Linked DNA regions of Homo sapiens: region 1 is linked to region 2. The links are contacts of gene promoters, found by promoter capture Hi-C in human tissues and cell types (Jung and others, 2019). All regions are on one chromosome and are shown on one strand. The core of a region is centred on a gene start or on the middle of the fragment in contact, and the rest is flanking DNA. Distances in the headings are between cores, read along the strand shown. Region 1 holds the start of TMIGD2 (transmembrane and immunoglobulin domain containing 2). Region 2 holds the start of CELF5 (CUGBP Elav-like family member 5).

Region 1 (2,807 bases), core at 235-2,734, 1.1 Mb before region 2:
CCAGAATGCACTACAGAATCAGGGGTGAGGGATGCAGGGCTGGGAGGAACTCGAGAGCCCATGAACCTCCTCCACGGGACCCCCAAGCAGGTCATGTAATAGGACCCAAAGTTATCAACAGAAATCTATTTCTCTGAACCTCAAAGGAAGATTTTTTAAATTATTATTATTATTTTTTTTTAGAGACGGACTCACTCTGTTGCCCAGGCTGGAGTAACGGGGCGCAATCATGGCTTACTGCAGCCTCCAACTCCTGGGCTCAAGCGGTTCTCCTGCCTCAGCCTCCCGAGTGGCTGGGACTATAGGCATGCACCATCACCCTGGGTTGGTTTTGTATCTTTTTTTTTTTTTTTGAGACACAGTCTCACTCTGTCGCCCAGGCTGGAGTGCAGTGGCAGGATCTCGGCTCCCTGTAATCTCCATCTCCCCAGTTCTGGCGATTCTCCTGCCTCAACCCCACTGAGTAGCTGGGACTACAGGCGCCCACCACTAGGCCCAGCTAATTTTTGTATTTTTAGTAGAGACCGGGTTTTGCCATGTTGGCTAGGCTGGTCTTGAACTCCTGACCTCAGGTGATCCACCCGCCTTGGCCTCCCAAAGTGCTGGGATTACAGGCCTGGGCCACCATGCCCAGCCTGTATCTTTTTTTTTTTTTTTTTTTTTTTAATAGAGATTGGATCTCGCTGTGTTACCCCAGGTTGATCTTAAACTCGGCTCAAGTGATCCTCCCACCTCAGCCTCACAAAGTGCTGGGATTACAGGTGTGAGCTACAGCGCCCAGCAAAAGAAAGACATTTTGGGAGCAAAATAATTGAGGCAGGGACCCTGTCATTTAACTCACTGCTCAGGCCTATGTCGCCTGCCCCTCCCCCACGGAGCCACCTGCTCTCGCACTGTGTCTTCCTGTACCTAGATGTGTTTATGTAGAGCCTTCCAGAAAGCTCACAGGGGTGGATTCCTCCCACTCACTTGCATACACTGCCTTTCTTTTCTTTTTTTCTGAGACGGAGTTTCACTCTTGTCGCCCAGGCTGGAGTGCAGTGGCGTGATCTTGGCTCACTGCAACCTCCGCCTCCCGGGTTTAAGCCATTCTCCTGCCTCAGCCTCCCAAGTAGCTGGGATTATAGGCGCCCATCACCATGTCCAGCTAATTTCTGTATTTTTAGTAGAAATTAGTAGGGGTTTCATCATGTTGGCCAAGCTGGTCTCGAACTCCTGACCTCAGGTGATCCACCTGCCTCGGCCTCCCAAAGTGCTGGGATTACAGACATGAGCCATGTTGCCTGGTCCGTACACTGCCTTTCAGATAGAAAATGCATTGGGGAAACTGAGGCACGAGGTGGCAGGAAGTGGAGCCCCCAGCAGGCTGGAACACCGGACGTCTGTTGTCTGGCCCTGGGTGTTGCATCTGCTTCTGCAGCGGGAGGCGGAGATTGTGGCAGGAAGTCTGTCAACTGGGAGGGGGAGAGGGGGGTGATGGGCCAGGAATGGGGTCCCCGGGCATGGTGCTGGGCCTCCTGGTGCAGATCTGGGGTGAGTATCTGGGCCTCCCTCCCCTCTGAACCCCACTCTTGCTGTCATCCCCAGCTGCCTGCCCCCCAGCTCAGGGCCCCTCTAAACTTCAGTCTCTCTACTGTCAGATAAGGCCCATCTCCCTCCGAGACTCAGAACGTGATGGGGGCTGGAGGATTAAGGAAGGATCCTCTGAGGGCCCCTAGGATACAATCTAAACCTTGCCCTACATACCAGCCTGGCCTGGCCTCTCTCATCTCCACCCTCCGCAGTGCCTTTGCTCCCTCCCTCTTGCTCTAGCCTGGGGACTTTTCTTTCTCTGTTTCCGCAATGGGAAGGCTGGATCTGGCCTTCGAGCCTTTGCACCTGCTGTTCCAGCTGCCTAATACCCTTCTCCAGATCTCATGTCTCTACCCTCCTCTGCAATTGCATCTCAAATGCCAGGAACTTCACATAACCTCAACTTCTCCGGGGGTCTAACAGACACGTCAGACTTCTCACAGCTAAAAGCAGACTTTCTACTCCGGCAGCAGCTCCCTCTGTGTTTCCAATTAAGGACAAAGGCTGCTGCCCTTCACACATTTCCTGGGGCGAAAACCTCCATTCCTCTTTCCCTCTCCTCTGATTCCAGCCGCTTGCACTTTTTTGTTGTTCATTTGTGTTTTTTTGTTTGTTTGTTTTGTTTTGTTTTGAGAAGGAGTCTTGCTCTGTCACCCAGGCTAGAGTGCAGTGACGCGATCTCGGTTGACTGCAACCTCTGCCTCCCAGGTTCAAGAGATTCTCCTGCCTCAGGCTCCCGAGTAGCTGGGACTGCAGGCGCGCGCCACTGCGCCTGGCTAATTTTTTTTGTATTTTTAGTAGAGACGGGGTTTCGCCATCTCGGCCAGGTGGGTCTCGAACTCCTGACCTCATGATCCACCCACCTTGGCCTCCCAAAGTGCTGGGATTACAGGCGTGAGCCACCGTGCCCAGTCATTTTTGTTTTTTAGAGATGGGTCTCACTATGTTGCCCAGGCTGGTCTTGAACTCCTGGCCTCAAGCAATCACCCAGTCTTGGCCACCCAAAGGGCTGGGATAACAGGCATGAGCCACCACACCCAACCAAGGTCTTTTTATTAAAACTTAAATTGGAGACTGAGGCAGGTGGATCACTTGAGGTCAGGAGTTCCAGACCAGCCTGGCCATGTTGGTGAAACCCCATCTCTACCAAAAATACAAAAATTAGCTGGGCGTGGTAGCGAGTGCCTGTAGTCCCAGCTACTCAAGAGGCTGAGCCACAAGAATCACTTGAACCT
Region 2 (2,700 bases), core at 95-2,594:
CAATTGCCGGACACCCCCACCCGGGATGCCATCGGAGGGAGAATCCAGTGGGAGGGAGGCAGACAGGCCTGAGGCCGCCCACGCCTCCCTCCTCCTCCCTGTCCACCCCAGAATTTGGGCTCTGCCCAGATGGACACGTCCAAGCTCATTGTCTTGGGCCTGAGACCCCAACACATTGCTAAGAGGCTCGGCCAGTTTCAACTTGAGCCCAAGGTGGAGGCGGGGGAGGGGGAGGGCAGAGAAATGGAGGAGAGAATGCTGATCCACGCGGAGGTGGTGGGGCCAGGGGGTGGGCAGCGACGGGAGCCTCTCCGCCACCCGAGGCAGGCGAGGCGGGCGCGTCCCCCCGAGCCGGGCGCCCCCAACCCGTCTTCCTTTGTAGTTACCGATTAGCCTGGGGTCCTGGGCATCCGTGTCCCCCGCGGCCGGACCTGCCCCGCCGGCCTGGCTTTGTGAAAATAACCAAAGCAATGGAGTCCGCAGGTGCAAACTTCCCCGACGGGGCCTGGGGAGGCTGAATGAATGGGGGTGGGGGGGCAGGGAGGGGTGCCGGCGTTCCCGAGGCTCCCCTGGCAAACGGGCAGGAAAGAGTGGGGTGAGGGAGGGAGGAAGGGGTGGGGGTCTGGGGGATGGAAGGGTGAGGGAGGGAGGGAGGGAGAGAGAGGGTGCTGTGGGGGGAAGGATGAGAGGTCGAGGGAGATGGGAGAGAAGAGAAAGGGAGAGAGAGAGGGAGAGAGAGAGGGAGAGAGAGAGGAGATGCCGGAAGGTGGGGAGGGAGGGAGAGGGGGCGGAGGAGGGGAGGGGGCCCGCTCGGATCTGTCAGCTGCACCCCCAGAGAGGGGAGGAGGGGTGGGTGGGAGGGAGGGGGTAAGAACCGATGCTCCGGCAGAGGCAGGCAGAGGAGGGAGGTGAGCAGAGGAGGGATGGTGATGGGGGAGAGAAGATGCCGGAAGGTGGGGTGGGAGGCGGAGGGAGGGGGAGAGGGGGGAGGGGGCCGGGCGCCCACCTTTGTGCATCCCCGTGTAGGGGTCTTTGAGCACCGTGAGCTCGTAGATGCGGCCGAACTGCTCGAAGAGCGGCTTGAGGTCCTTCTCGTCCAGGTGCCGCGGGATCTGGCCCACGAAGAGTTTGATGGCGTCCAGGTCCTTCATGCCGTCGGGCTGCCCCCCGGGGGGCTCGGGCCCGCTGCTGCCCACGGGCGAGGGCCGCGGCTGCAGGAGCTGCTGCTGCTGCCGGCGCGCCTCGCTCTCCGTCAGGCGGGCCATGGCGGGCGCGGGACCGAGCCGGCGGCGGCGGCGGCGGGCGGCGGGCGGACTCGCAGCTGGAGCGGCGGCCGCGCCTCCCGCCTCCCTCCCGGGCCCCCGCGCCCTCCTCCCGCCCGCGCCCGCCCCGGCATCGGGACCACAAAGGCGGCTCCGCAGCGGCCCCTGGCGGCCGCGCCGCGCGGGGCAGCCGGCGCCTCCCCGCATCCCCGGGCCGCGGGGGGAAACTGAGGCCGGAAGGCCCCGGGCCCCGCCTACGGGTGGGCGAGGGCGGAGCTGCGGGCGGGACGGGCCTTAGCCGGCTTCCCAGGGGTCCCCGCCGGCTCCCGCGGAGGGCATCGGCCGGAAGAATGTCAAAAGTTGCTGGGATAATGTAGGGGGCTTGTCGTTGAAAGCGCCCGTGATCCTTAAAGTAGGTAACTCATCAATAATATTAATAACACTAATAATATGGCTGGGCGCGGTGGCTCACGCCTGTCATCTCAGCACTTTGGGAGGCCGAGGTGGGTGGATCACTTGAGGTCAGGAGTTCGAGACCAGACTGGCTAACACGGTGAAACCCCGTCTCTACTAAAGAATACAAAAATTAGCTGGGCTCGGTGGCGGGGGGTGCCTGTAATCCCAGCTACTCGGGAGGCTGAGGCAGGATAATCACTTGAACCCAGGAGGCGGAGGTTGCAGTGAGCCAAGATTGTGCCATTGTACTCCAGCCTGGGCAACAAGAGCAAAACTCCGTCTTGGTAAAAAAAAAAAAAAAAAACACCTAATAATAACAACACTAATAATAATTAATCAAGAGCAAGACAAAGTGCTCCCACTAATCACGACAGCACAGGAGAAATGGTAAAAGTATCTTCCAGTTCTATAGGGTGCTTACACATAGAAAGTGTCCTTGGCCCTTTAAGTATGTAACTCATCAATAATGTCATCAACAAGGAGGGAGACTGGCTCGCACTGATAATGACAGGATAGGAGAAATACTGAAGTATCTCCCAGCTCTAAAGTGCCCGTGATCCTTTACGTATGAAACTCATCAATAATATTAATAAAAATAATAATACGTGCTGGCCGTGGTGGCTCACACCTGTAATCCCAGCACTTTGAGAAGCAGAGTCAGGAGGACCACTTGAGCCCAGGAGTTGGAGACCAGCCTGAGCAACATAGTGAGACGCCATTGCTGTAAAAAATAAGAAAACAGGCCAGGCACGATGGCTCACACCTGTAATCCCAGCACTTTGGGAGGCTGAGGCAGGTGGATCACCTGAGATCAGGAGTTCGAGACCAGCCTGATCAACATGGAGAAAACTCTGTCTCTACTAAAAACACAAAAATTAGCCAGGCATGGTTGTGCATGCCTGTAATCCCAGCTACTCAGGAGGCTGAGGCAGGAAAATCGCTTGAACCCGGGAGGCGGAGATTGCAGTGAGCCGAGATTGCG

Evidence for each region. The method cuts DNA at HindIII sites, captures the fragments that hold promoters and counts their contacts. A contact is called where the count stands out against the background at its distance.
Region 1: a contact is called between the fragment with the promoter of TMIGD2 here and the fragment with the promoter of CELF5 in region 2, in 1 of the 25 tissues and cell types used here (spleen).

What each region holds. Positions count from the first base shown.
Region 1 is chr19:4,301,066-4,303,872 of GRCh38, reverse strand. TMIGD2 (transmembrane and immunoglobulin domain containing 2) reads left to right here and starts at 1,484. Exons shown (of 5, transcript NM_001169126.2): 1 at 1,484-1,533. The coding sequence starts at 1,488. RefSeq lists an enhancer at 1,478-2,023. The HindIII fragment of the contact is 29,023 bases long and covers 1-2,807 here.
Region 2 is chr19:3,223,305-3,226,004 of GRCh38, reverse strand. CELF5 (CUGBP Elav-like family member 5) reads right to left here and starts at 1,344. Exons shown (of 13, transcript NM_021938.4): 1 at 1,007-1,344. The coding sequence starts at 1,265. RefSeq lists a silencer at 1,404-1,523. The HindIII fragment of the contact is 19,492 bases long and covers 1-2,700 here.